Regions from separate parts of the Homo sapiens genome. Here regions 1, 2 and 3 are each linked to region 4. Evidence: promoter capture Hi-C in 16 types of primary human blood cells and fetal thymus (Javierre and others, 2016). All regions are on one chromosome and are shown on one strand. The core of a region is centred on a gene start or on the middle of the fragment in contact, and the rest is flanking DNA. Distances in the headings are between cores, read along the strand shown.

The links. The method cuts DNA at HindIII sites, captures the fragments that hold promoters and counts their contacts. A CHiCAGO score of 5 or more calls a contact.
Region 1: a fragment that was not itself captured here is called in contact with the fragment with the promoter of RNF114 in region 4 in 1 of 17 cell types (M0 macrophages); the score reaches 5.1 in M0 macrophages.
Region 2: a fragment that was not itself captured here is called in contact with the fragment with the promoter of RNF114 in region 4 in 1 of 17 cell types (M2 macrophages); the score reaches 5.1 in M2 macrophages.
Region 3: a fragment that was not itself captured here is called in contact with the fragment with the promoter of RNF114 in region 4 in 1 of 17 cell types (monocytes); the score reaches 5.2 in monocytes.

Annotation. Positions count from the first base shown.
Region 1 is chr20:49,525,226-49,528,185 of GRCh38, reverse strand. The region is part of intron 5 of PTGIS (prostaglandin I2 synthase); the gene reads left to right. Among named protein-coding and RNA genes, the nearest start is that of PTGIS, 41 kb to the left of the region's middle. The HindIII fragment of the contact is 1,588 bases long and covers 555-2,142 here.
Region 2 is chr20:49,642,521-49,645,533 of GRCh38, reverse strand. It overlaps B4GALT5 (beta-1,4-galactosyltransferase 5), which reads left to right. Exons shown (of 9, transcript NM_004776.4): 4 at 1,884-2,008; 5 at 2,950-3,013. Among named protein-coding and RNA genes, the nearest start is that of B4GALT5, 70 kb to the left of the region's middle. The HindIII fragment of the contact is 1,780 bases long and covers 863-2,642 here.
Region 3 is chr20:49,577,700-49,580,894 of GRCh38, reverse strand. No RefSeq gene overlaps it. Among named protein-coding and RNA genes, the nearest start is that of PTGIS, 11 kb to the right of the region's middle. RefSeq lists an enhancer at 201-775. The HindIII fragment of the contact is 4,359 bases long and covers 1-3,195 here.
Region 4 is chr20:49,935,083-49,938,012 of GRCh38, reverse strand. It overlaps RNF114 (ring finger protein 114), which reads right to left and starts at 1,616. Exons shown (of 6, transcript NM_018683.4): 1 at 1,461-1,616. The coding sequence starts at 1,600. RefSeq lists silencers at 247-541, 827-1,121, 1,580-1,769, 2,336-2,415 and an enhancer at 1,362-1,967. The HindIII fragment of the contact is 14,536 bases long and covers 1-2,930 here.

The sequences.
Region 1 (2,960 bases), core at 99-2,598, 410 kb after region 4:
ATGGTTGACCATGGGTAACTGAAACCTTGGAATTCAAATTCTTTTGTATTTTGAGTATCACTCTGTCACCCAGGCTGGAGTGCAGTGGCTCCATCTCAGCTCACTGCAACCTCCACCTCCCGGGTTCAAGTGATTCTGCTGCCTCAGCCTCCCAAGTAACTGGGATTACAGGTGCCTGCCACCACCCCCAGCTTATCCTTTTTTGTATTTTTAGTAGAGACGGGGTTTCACCATGTTGGTCAGGCTGGCTTCAAACTCCTGAACTCAAGTGATCTGCCCACCTTGGCCTCCCAAAGTGTTGGGATTACATGCGTGAGCCACTGCACCCGCCCAGAATGCAAATTCTTTGTTATACAACACTATCTTTGACTCATTTTTGCCAAATGACCTTCATATGCCTTTTAAAAAAATTGTGGTAAAATAATAAATAACATAAAATATACTATTTTAACCATTTTAATTGTATAATTCAGTGGCAGTAAATACATTCACAATGTTGTATAACCATGCCGTTATCTATTTCCAGAAACTTTTCATGATTCTAAACAAAAGCTTTGTGCCCATTAAACAATAATTCCCCACCTGCCTTTCCTCCCAGCCCGACATATCTTCTATTCTACTTTCTGTCTCTTCTATTCTACTTTCTATTCTACTTTCTGTCGAATAGTATACTTCTATTGTACTTTCTGTCTCTGAATTTCCTGTTCTAGGATTCTCATTATATGAGATTTTGGAGACAGAGTCTCTGTCGCCCAGGCTGGAGTGCAGTGTCGCCATCTCAGCTCACTACAATCTCCGCCTCCCGGGTTCAAGCTATTCTTGTGCCTCAGCCTCCTGAGTAGCTGGGATTACAGGTACACACCACCATGCCTGGCTAATTTTTTTTTTTTTTTTTTGTATTTTAGTAGAGACAGGGTTTCACCATGTTGCCCATGCTGGTTCTCTAACTCCTGAGCCCAGGAAATCTGCCCACCTTGGCCTCCCAAGGTGCTAGGATTGCAGGCGTGAGCCACCATGCCTGGCATATGCGTCAGAATTTCATTCCTTTTTAAGAGTGAATACATTGTGTGTATATACTGCATTCTATTTATCCATTCACCTATCAACCGACATTTGGGTTGTTTCTGCCTTTTGGCTACTGTGAATAATGCTGCTATGAACATTGGTGCACGAGTATCTGTTTGAGTCTCTGGTTTCAGTTCTTTGGGCTATATACCTAGAACTAGAATTACTGGATCATATGGTAATTCTTTAACTTTCTGAGGAACTGCTAAACTCTTTTTCACAGCAACTGCAGTATTTTACATTCCCACCAGCAATGCATAAGGGTTCCAATTTCTCCACGTCCTCACCATCACTTATTTCCTATGTTTTAAATAGTAGCCATCCTCATGGTTGTGAATGGTATCACACTGTGGTTTTTACATGCATTTTCTAATGACTAATGGTGTTGAGCATTGTTTCATGTGTTTATCAGCCATTTGTATCTCTTCTTTGGAGAAATATCTATTCAAGTCCTTTGCCAATTTTCAAATCAGGTTGTTTGTTTTTTATTGTTGTTGAGTCGTAGGAGTTCTTTTATATATTTTGGGTGTTAGACCCTTATCAGATATATTATTTACAAATATTTTCTCACTTTCTGTCAGCTGTCTTTTCATACTGCATTACCTTTTTTGCTTAATTATTCATTGATTGTGCAAATATAGAGTGCCTCCTATGTACTCAGAACTGCTGTAGGCACAGGGGAAAAGTGGAGAATGGTCCTGCCTTGCTTTTTAAAGTCATCTGTAAACGCCGTGTTTACAGTGATATTCAAGATTGCAGTTGTGTGGTCAGACTTCAAAGAATGCCAGTTATTTCTAAAGCTGTGTTAAATTTCTTTGCCTCTTTTTTTAGCCATCCCATCAGATGATGCTTAGAAGTATCCAGAGTTGGCATCAACTGAGGTGGTTTCAACACTGCCCGCGCCCTGCAGGCCTAAACCTCTGGATGCCCAGTTCCCACGCACGTGATTTTGACATGATCAATCTGGGGTTGGCACCTGGGCATCCAGAGATTTAAGAGCTCCCAGGTAATTCTTCAGAGAGCCTGAAAAGTGGAGAAACATAGGAAGATAATGTATTTCAGTTGAACACTTAAGCTTATTGCTTTACATTGAAATGTCACCCGAAATGGTGACATTCATTTCAATGTAAAACAATGAGCTCAAGTTGAAGTCTAAAAGTTAAACATATTCAGCGTATTATTTGAAAATGAAGCCAACATACTTTAAAAAAAAAACATAGTCTACATTTTCGACCCTTTCAAATGCCCTGTGAGGTGCAGCCAGGTTTAGAATCGCTGGTGGGGCGAGTCTTCCTGAAACACGGCTTGTGGTTCAGAAGAGTCAGTGAGGGAGTTTCCAATACTTTGAAACTTCAGAGCAATCCAAAATGACTCTCACTTTTCCAAGGGGTGATTTCGGAGAAAACCAAATTTTATATTTTATATTTTTGTTTTAAACTTTATATTTGTGCATATAAATAGCATTACCGTGGAGCTTTAAAACAATGTATATTAAGGCTCATGTATGGTTCATGAAAATATTTTAAAAAAAAAAAAAGAAGTAGAAAAGAAAACAATATCTAAATAGTGTCATTCTTCAGTGCCCGGCTTTATCCCCTTACCAGTCTGCCCTTGGGAACTCTCTGTGTCTGTAGGTAAAATGTACTAACTCACTTTCACTGCTGTATGTTTCCAGAACATAAACACACCATTGTCTGTTTAATGGTGATGCACGCTAGTGATCTGTGGGCCAAAGTTGACCTTCAGAGATGCTTCTGTGGTCTGCACAGTGATTAAAAACTTTTTACTTGGATGCTAACCTTAAAAAACATCAGAAGGTTATACATAATTGTCTGGATTATCAGCTTCCTTTGAAAGCACAGGCCTTCTGGCCATGCTGGGGTGTTTCCCTCTCC
Region 2 (3,013 bases), core at 503-3,002, 290 kb after region 4:
CAGGTGATCCGCCCACCTCAGCCTCTCAAAGTGCTAGGATTACAGGTGTGAGCCACTGCTCCCAGCCTTGTGATACACTTTTATATGACTGGCAATGCAGTAGATTTGTTTATACCAGCATCACCAGAAACACTTGAGTAACACAACAATGCTATGGCAGCTATGTCATCACTAGGCAGTAGGAATTTTTCAACTCCATTGTGATCTTATGCAACCACCGTATATGCCATCCGTCACTGGTGAAAATGTCAAAGCACATCACTGTATAGGCAGTCAGCTTTGTCTTTTTAGTATAAACCTCTCACTGATTGTAGTGCTTGATCTTAGAGGTGGGGGTCTCACTATGTTGCCCAGGCTGGTCTCCAACTTCAGGGAGCAATCGTCCTGCCTCAGCCTCCTGAGAAGCTGGGACTACAGGCATGAGCCACCATGCCTTGCTTGGAAGTTATTTTCTTAACAAAGTGCTAGTTAAAACAATTCTTAGATCTTTTTGTTCTTTTTTTTGAATCTCGTGTAAGCTAAAACAAGGACAGTAAACTCTTATACCTTTCCTATACTTTTAGGCTTCTTAATATGGTTCCCCACTTCTTTTTTTAAAATTGTTTTTTTTTAAGAAGTGAGATCAAGAAAAGGAAAATCTTACATTTGCAAAGTTGACTTTTATGCACAAATATAGTGAAAATAGGGAAAATGTTAGAAATAGTCGTGCATGGTATTTGAACATATTCTCATCCATATATGAATAATTAATTATAAGTATGTAAGTTGTGTTGGAAGCCTTACTGTTTCATTTGCATGTCTCACCACACATATATAGGTTTTCCCTTTAAAACCTGCATTTGTCTGCATCTAGATGTAAGCTTAGTTTGGGAAGGCTGAGATTTGTGTATCAGAAATAGGCGTTGACAGGCCTAAAACTAATGTTATTAGTTCATTGTTTCAGTAGCATTTATTGATTGTTACTGTACCACTTCCTGACTTAAGTCAGAGATGACCAGCATTCTGAGTTAGGACATAATCACTCAGGGTCCTGACCCACTGGTGAATGGATTGAGAGAGGTAGTGTGGCTGCACTTGCATCAGGAGCAAACCTGACATGACTCTAAGCTCAGCTGCTTTTCTCCTTCTTCTCAGAAAAGCTCAGCTGCAGCCAGGTGCAGGGGCTCATAGCTATAATCCCAGCACTTTGGGAGGCCAAGGTGGGAGAATCACTGGAGCTCAGGAGTTCAAGACCAACCTGGGCAACATAGTGAGACCCTGTCTCTATTTATTAAAACATATTAATAAACAAAACAAAAAAAAAAGAAGGCTGGGCACAGTGGCCCACGACTGTAATCCTAACATTTTGGGTGGCCCAGGTGGGTGGATCCCTTGAGGTCAGGAGTTCGAGACCAGCCTGGCCAACAAGGTGAAACCTCATCTCTACTAAAAATACAAAATTAGCTGGGTGTGGTGGCATATGCCTGTAACCGCAGCTACTCAGGAGGCTGAGGCAGGAGAATTGCTTGAACCCAGAGGCAGAGGTTGCAGTGAGCTGAGATCACACCACTGCACTCCAGCCCGGGCAACAGAGCGAGACTGTCTCAAAAAAAAAAAAAAAAAAAAAAAAAAGCTCAGCTACTGTTTTACTTAAAGTTTTCATTTCTACCTGGCCCCTGACAGAAGCAGAACTCTAAAGTCTTAATTCCTTGATTTGCCTCTTCACCTTGAAAATAGTGAGGAACTGAAATACGGTGAGATGGAAAGCAGAGGAAGGGACTTCCATCCTTGCTAAAAACAAATTCAGCTGAAAAAGCATTGCGCTCTCCAGAGACTAAAACCCCAGGCATAGGGAAACCTATCATTTTCTGACCTCTTAATCCCTTTTCCCCGTCTCTGTTCAGAGGGCCCAATAGACATAAACATGAGTGAAATTGGAATGGATTACATTCATGAACTCTTCTCCAAAGACCCAACCATCAAGCTCGGAGGTCACTGGAAGCCTTCTGATTGCATGCCTCGGTGGAAGGTAGGGTGTGAAGTCACAGCCAAAATGCTGAGAAGCCCACCTGGGGTTTGCCTTTGGTCCGAATCACCATGGGATTAGCTAACCATGACATTTTGTCATTTTCATCCTACCATTCCATGCAAATGTAGAAACATTTTAGAGGAATGGGTTTCCACAAGGACTCTTTTTGTAGATACAGAAATTTGCATTATTCTGATGACCGAGCAAGACCCTTTGGTCTTCCCACCAGGAATATTAACAAAGCAAGGGGATGAGGGCGTTGGTGGTCTCTAATGACCCATTTGCAGAAGTCATCTACAGAGTCAGTGCTTCATTCCTGTTCTCCATTGGTTACTACAAGATTAGTGGATTAAAAAGCAAAGTTACCTGGCTTGACATTGAGATTTAGTTTTTTTCTGCCTGACCATAGTCAGAAGACATCAGTAGTTTTCGTTAAGCTGTGACCCCAGCTGAAGTCCATTCTTTCAACAAGTATCTATTAAAATGCGTATTCTGTGCCAGCCTCGTTAAGTGCTGCTGATGCAGCAGATCTGGAACACATCAGTATCCAGCCCATCGCTGGGAAATAAAAACAGTTGAATAACCAGCATTTGTACATTGCACATTGTAAGGGGAAATACTGTTTTGTGAAGCTTGTTTTAATTGTAAGTTTATAGATGTATTTTTGTCACAGTGTAGAATGTGTGTTTTCCTATGAGTTATGGCCTAGAATAAATTATAGGCCTACTATGTACTATAAGATATGGTATATGTAAGAATCACATTCATCTAGGTCCAAGGGCCAACTTGCCAACATAGATCTTTGTTTAGAGAAAGCTGAGGACAAGATAGCCAGCCTCCCAGAACTCCCATGGGTTGGTCAGCAATTCATCAGGGGTGTCCTGCTAAGGAGTGAAAGCTGAGAGTCCTAACTGTGCTTCTTTTGCTGTAATCCACTCCAGGTGGCGATCCTTATCCCCTTCCGGAACCGCCACGAGCACCTCCCAGTCCTGTTCAGACACCTGC
Region 3 (3,195 bases), core at 653-3,152, 360 kb after region 4:
TCACATAGTGGCAAAGCCAAGATGTAAACCCAGGTTCTCTGGCTCCAGCATGTCTCTTGCTCCTAATCACTGAACTAGATGACATCCATGGAAAATGTAAAAGGCTCATTTTTCTTTGCATATCTGAGTTCAGAGTAAGGAAAAGTTCAACTCCAACACACTAGCATATCTATGTAAACAGACCCTTAATTTTTGTGTGCAGGAAGGAGCATTCCAGGACTTATAAACTAGCTATGCTTGGGCTGTTTCCAGGTCTGGACATATTTTATTTGGTCCACACAGTATCTTACATACCGGAAAAAATGCACATTGGAAAAATAAGCCTTTCCCCCACTAGCTTCTCTTAAAAACCATAGGGCTAGAGCTGAGCAGTGAGGTTGGATTTGAAGGGGGAGTCTGTCCACTGTAGGGGGAGGGTGGGGAGGAGGCTTCGACCCCTGAATACAGCTCAGTCTGAGGCAGTTTCCTGCGCCCTGGGGAGACCCCATCTGGGTCCTGGGTTTCCCAGGAGGCGGCCATTCACTCCAACAGGGAGAACAATGCCCTCCTGTTCCCCTGCCAGCCTGGAGTCCTGGGAGTGAAGAGAGGCAGCCTGGGCCTCTGACTGGAGCCCAGACTCCACCATTCCCGGTTCTGTGGCCTTGCCTTCTGTCTGGGCTTCCCATTCCTCATCTGTAAAATGCGCACACAGCCGTCCCTGCCCAGCTTTCAGCCCTCCCACCCCACTTTCTGACCCGCCTTTGGGGGATCATCCTTCCCACCTTGTTTGGTTGACCATCAAGGTCTGTGGGCAGGCACATGACCCAAACATGGCCAATCAGACTTTCTCGTGGGAGAATCAGAAACTGAAGCGGAAGGAATGCTGAGATTGGAAACAGCTGGAGCCCCGAAGACCTGGCCACTGGTTCCTGCTCCCCACACCCCTGGCTCCTGCTCCCCGCGTTCCCGGAGCTGCTTGTTCCTGTCCTTTCCAAGTCCCAGCTGGTCAACTTTTCCTTCCAATACCTCGTCCCCACCTTTTCTTTTTCTTAAATTAGCCAGGGTTGGTTTCTGAGGCTTGAACAAACCCAAGTACTCTGCCTGATGCCAGCATGACAATTTCTGCTTCTAAAGCTGGTATGAGGGTCAAATGCTATGCACTAGAGTATAAACTGTGAAGTGCCATCCACATATGAGGAATTGTCCAGGCACTGGCACATCGCAGTTATGAACTTGGGCCTCAGAATCAGAATTTGATTCCCAGCTCCACCCCTTTCTTGCTGTGTGACCTTGGGCTGCTTGCTTCCCCTCTTTGAGCTTCAGTTTCCTCACCTGGAAAGTGGAGATGATACTGGTATTAAGACCAGCTATATACTTTGTGGGTACCAGAGTAAAGTAAAATCATGGGGACCCTTGTTCAAAAATAATTAAGAATTTCAAGCTGGTGACAGGAGAGCGCTAAGCCGAGCATGAGACCATTCTGGGTGCAGGGGCCTATGTGAGCACCCAGGTTGCATGTCCATGAAGCTGGCCCTGACTGCATAGAGCTTGCTGCGAATGGGGCATCTTATCCAGGCTGGGCAAGGAGTGCAAAGCTGTGTCACTCTAATTCATATCTGGTTGCCTCCCAGAAAGCCCTGGAGAAGGTTTACGAAATGAGAATGTAATAAGGTTTCATCCATTAAGCACCAGGTATGAAACAAGTACTTCACATACTACCTTATTCAGCTTCAGAATGGAGAACTTTCTTCTATTGCAAGTGAAAGAAACTCAACCCAAATTGGCTGAAACAAGCAAACAAAAATAATTTAATGGTTCATGTGGTCAGGAGCATTCTGGCTTCAGGCATGGCTGAATCCGGGGGTTCAAATGATATCTCAAGAAACTGTATTTCCCTATCTCTTGGTTCTGCTGCCCTGTAAGTCGGTTTCATTCTCAGACATGCTATCTCCAGGCAGAGGCAAAAGTGGTCCCCCAGTATCCTGCCAGGTCAGAAATCACAGGCAGAAGGTCCTTCTGATCACCAAATAAATGGTTAGGGAGACAGAGAACTCTCTCCAGCGTGTCTGGTATTAGTGGAGGGAGGTTGGGAGGCTGTGAAAATAATGCTAATAGCCCACATTTATCCAAGGCTTTCCATACTTCCAGAGATTAACTCTTTTCATCCTCACAACCAACTCCATTTGACACCTGGGGAAACAAAGGCACAGATAAGCAATATGCCTGAGGCCTTTTAAGTGGGGGGGCGGGTGCCAGGCTTTGAGTTCACATAGTCTGGCCGTGGAGCCCAGGCTCTCTCACTCTAGCCCTCTGCGGACATGCAGGACATGTAGACATTTGGGCTATGTGATTGCCTGTGCATCAGAGTTTGGAGCTGTGAACCATGAGCGTGGCTGAACATCCACCAAAGATTTCTATTTTTTTTTTTTTAAAGCAGTGAAATGTTTGTGTGTTTGAGATGAGATTTTTTTTTAGACAGCATCTCACTCTGTTGCCCAGGCTGGAGTTCAGTGGCGCGATCTTAGCTCACAACCTCCGCCTCCCAGTTCAAGCGATTCTCCTGCCTCAGCCTCCCAAGTAGCTGGGATTACAGGTGCCTGCCACAATGCTCAGCTAATTTTTGTACTTTTAGTAGAGATGGGGTTTCACCATGTAGGCCAGGCTGGTCTTGAACTCCTGACCTCAGGTGATCCACCTGCCTCGGCCTCTGAAAGTGCTGGGATTACAGGCGTGAGCCACCGTGTCTGGCCAAGATGAGATCTAACATGATCTAACATGGAACAGACACAGGAGCTGATGCCTGGTGAAGTGGGGCTGGGGGATTATTGCCCTCTGGGGAGGTGCTGGGGTGGGAGGGAGAGGAATGGAGGTCACACAGGCTTGTTGCATTGCGATCTGAGACTATTGTACTTTTATTCTGCTTTTAAAAAAATTATTGCCATGTTCTTTGTGGCTTACTAGGTAGCCAGTGTTTGTGGTTCACTATGTTATTTTGACTTTCTATTTCCTTTTTTTTTTCCCTTGGTATTTCAAGAGCTGAGAGAAGTGACTTAAAATGTCCTTGCTCTGTAACTATCTGTTGCTGTGTTATCTGGTGCATGGATGCTCACACCTTTATTTATTTTTATTTATTTATTTATTTTTTGAGACAGAGTTTTGCTCTGTCGCCCAGGCTAGAGTGCAGTGGCTCAATCTCAGGTCACTGCAACTTCTGTC
Region 4 (2,930 bases), core at 367-2,866:
GAAATACCCTCCCACTTGCAGAATGAATTTTTACAATAGTTTGACCAGTCATTGGTACTTATTTATAATCAATTCACTGGACTGTAAACTCTGAAGGCAGAGTCTACCCCAAAATCTGGCACACAGAGGCCATTCCAGTCAGTTCAGGGGCAATAAAGATATGGCCACTCCGTCATGAGCTGTTAAGTTTTGCTCTGTGCAAGCAAGGAGAAGGAAGTTAAGTCCCAGAAAGGAAGTGGGGGAAGTAATTTAGATGGGGATGGTATTTGGTGAGGTAACTTAACCTGGGACTTGAAGCCTGAAAAGGGAGGGGTGGGGGGAAGAGTTCCAGGCTAACCGAATTGCAAAGATGAATAGCCTAAAGCAACATGATGAAGCAAAAAGCAGCCAGCTAGGTGCCAAGCACTGTTCTCTGGACTACTGAAATGGTCACCTGCAGTACATCTGGGAAGAGCTAGGCCACGGTGACCCTTCCCTAAGAGAGCCTCGGACCCTCAGTGTATTCACCTGTAAAATGGCTGCCAACCCTCCCCCGCTGCAGGGTGGCTATAGAATAATGCCCATGGAGTGCAATGGCTACTGTGCCCGCTGCCAAGACCAATGCCAAGGTGATCCCACGATAAGCACTGAGAGGGGCCAGAGGAAAAGCCAATTCTGAGGCAAGAAGCAGGTGGCCACGTTGTCTACAATTCTTTCAACTCAGATGTGTTTGTGCGTCTGATGGAACAAGGCTTAGATTCAAATCGACCAACCTGACCAACCTCGAAAGCCCCGGCCACAGCCCAGGACCTGGACTGGACATTTATACACATATCTGCTTTAATCATTATAACCACTCTATTCACAATATTCAGGTCATGAAGGCTTAATTGAAAACTGAAAGAAACAAACCTCCTACACAGGAAGTAGAATGCTAACAATCCCATCTGCCAACTCCCACCCCCCTTTCACAGCTAAGGGCAAACTGGCCAGATCCCCATAAAGACTTCCCTTTTGTTGTTTTAGTCTAGTTCAGCGTTTCTCCCGACTTTAGTGCACAGTAGAATAACTCGCCACAGCTAGACACGACGCCAAATGTCCTATGCTTTAAGAGCGACGTGGACTAGAAAGGAAACGTCGGCTCTCCAAGGGCGGACTTCGGAGCCTAAAGTCCCCGCAGGGCACGAGTCCACTATCACGTGTGGGAAGGAGACTGACAGGCCGCCTGGAACATCGCAGGCGCTCAACAGACAGCAGCTGCCCCGCTAAGACGGGCGGAGGAACGGGATACTTAGGAGTGAGCGGGGCGGGACAGAAGAGCGCCCCGGCAGCTTTCACGGCCCTTAGGAGCCCCGGGGGACACCCCCGGGAGGCCCCTCTGGGTGGGTCCTCTGGCTCCCGCCCTGAGACCCATCTCGCTCCTCGGCTCCATTCCCTTCCCAGTTAAGCGCCCCCCGACCAGGCCCGGGCTCGCCGCTTACACGTGTCCGCAGGGCACCTGTACCGGCTTCTCGTACACCTCTAAGCACACGGGACACGTGAAGCGTCCTAGGGGGTCAGCCTCCGCCGCCGGCCCCGCCAGCTGCGCAGCACCCCCGCAGTCCCGCTGTTGCGCCGCCATCTTGCTGCCGCTCTGCGCCGCGCAACGGCGGCCGATGAGGAGGAGGCCGAGGGGGCGGGGCTCGCGGGGCGGTGAGCGGTTGGGGGCGGGGCTAGCGGGTGGGCCGCCCCTCGGGGCCCCTCTGACGCAAGCGAGCTAGAGGCCGAGGGAAATCTGGAAAACGTGGAAGCCAAATCCAAAGGCTGCCAGAATTGGGACGGGCTCTGCGCGTGGGCCGCTGTTTTCCAAATTTATCGTTAGTTCGGCACCACTTGCACTATCACTATTTATCTTCGAATCAAGTTGCTTTTTCCTTAAATTTATTTATTTATTTATTTAATCTATTTTGGGACAAGGTCTTGCTTTGTCGCCCAGGCTGGTGTTCAGTGGCGCGCGCGATCATGGCTCCCTGCAGCCTCGACCACCGGGGTTCAAGCGATCCTCCCACCTCAGCCTCCTGCGTAGCTGGACCACAGGCAGTCACCACCATGCCGGACTAATTTATTTATTTTTGTATTTTTTGTAGAGACGGGGAAAGGAGGGGGGGAAGGAGTGGTGCAGAGAGCGGGCGGGTCTCACTGTGTTGCCGAGGCTGGCCTCGAACTCTTGGACGCAAGCAATCCGCCTGCCTCGGCAACCCGAAGTGCTGGGATTACAGCGGTGAGCCACAGTACCCAGCCATTTCTTAAATTTAAGCAAATTCTAATAACAGATCTAATTCCTGAGCTGCAAGAAGAAAATCAATATCATTTATTTATACAAAGGAGCTGGGCAAGGTGGCTTACTTCTGTAATCTCAGCACTTTGGGAGGCCGAGGTGGGCGGATCGCTTGAGCCTAGGAGTACTAGAGCAGCCTGGCCAACATGGTGAAACCCCGTCTCTACTAACAATACTAAAATTAGCCAGGCGTGGTTGCCCATGCCTGTAGCCTCAGCTACTCAGGACGCTGAGGCAGGAAAAGCCTTTGACCTGGGAGGCGAAGGTTGCCGTGGGCCAAGATGGCTCACTCACTCCAACAGTCACTAAACTCCAGCCTGGGCAACAAGAACGAAACTCCGTCTGAAAAAAAAAAAAAAAAACAAAAACACAACCTGGCTAACACGGTGAAACCCTGTCTCTACTAAAAATACAAAAAATTAGCCGGGCGTGGTGGCGGGCGCCTGTAGTCCCAGCTACTCGGGAGGCTGAGGCAGGAGAATGGCTTGAACCTGGGAGGCGGAGCTTGCAGTGAGCCAAGATCTTGCCACTGCACTCCAGTCTGGGCGACAGCGCGAGACTCCCTCTCAAAAAACAACAACAACAACAACAAAACAAAACAAAAAAACCCCAACAACAAAGTACATTCATTTCA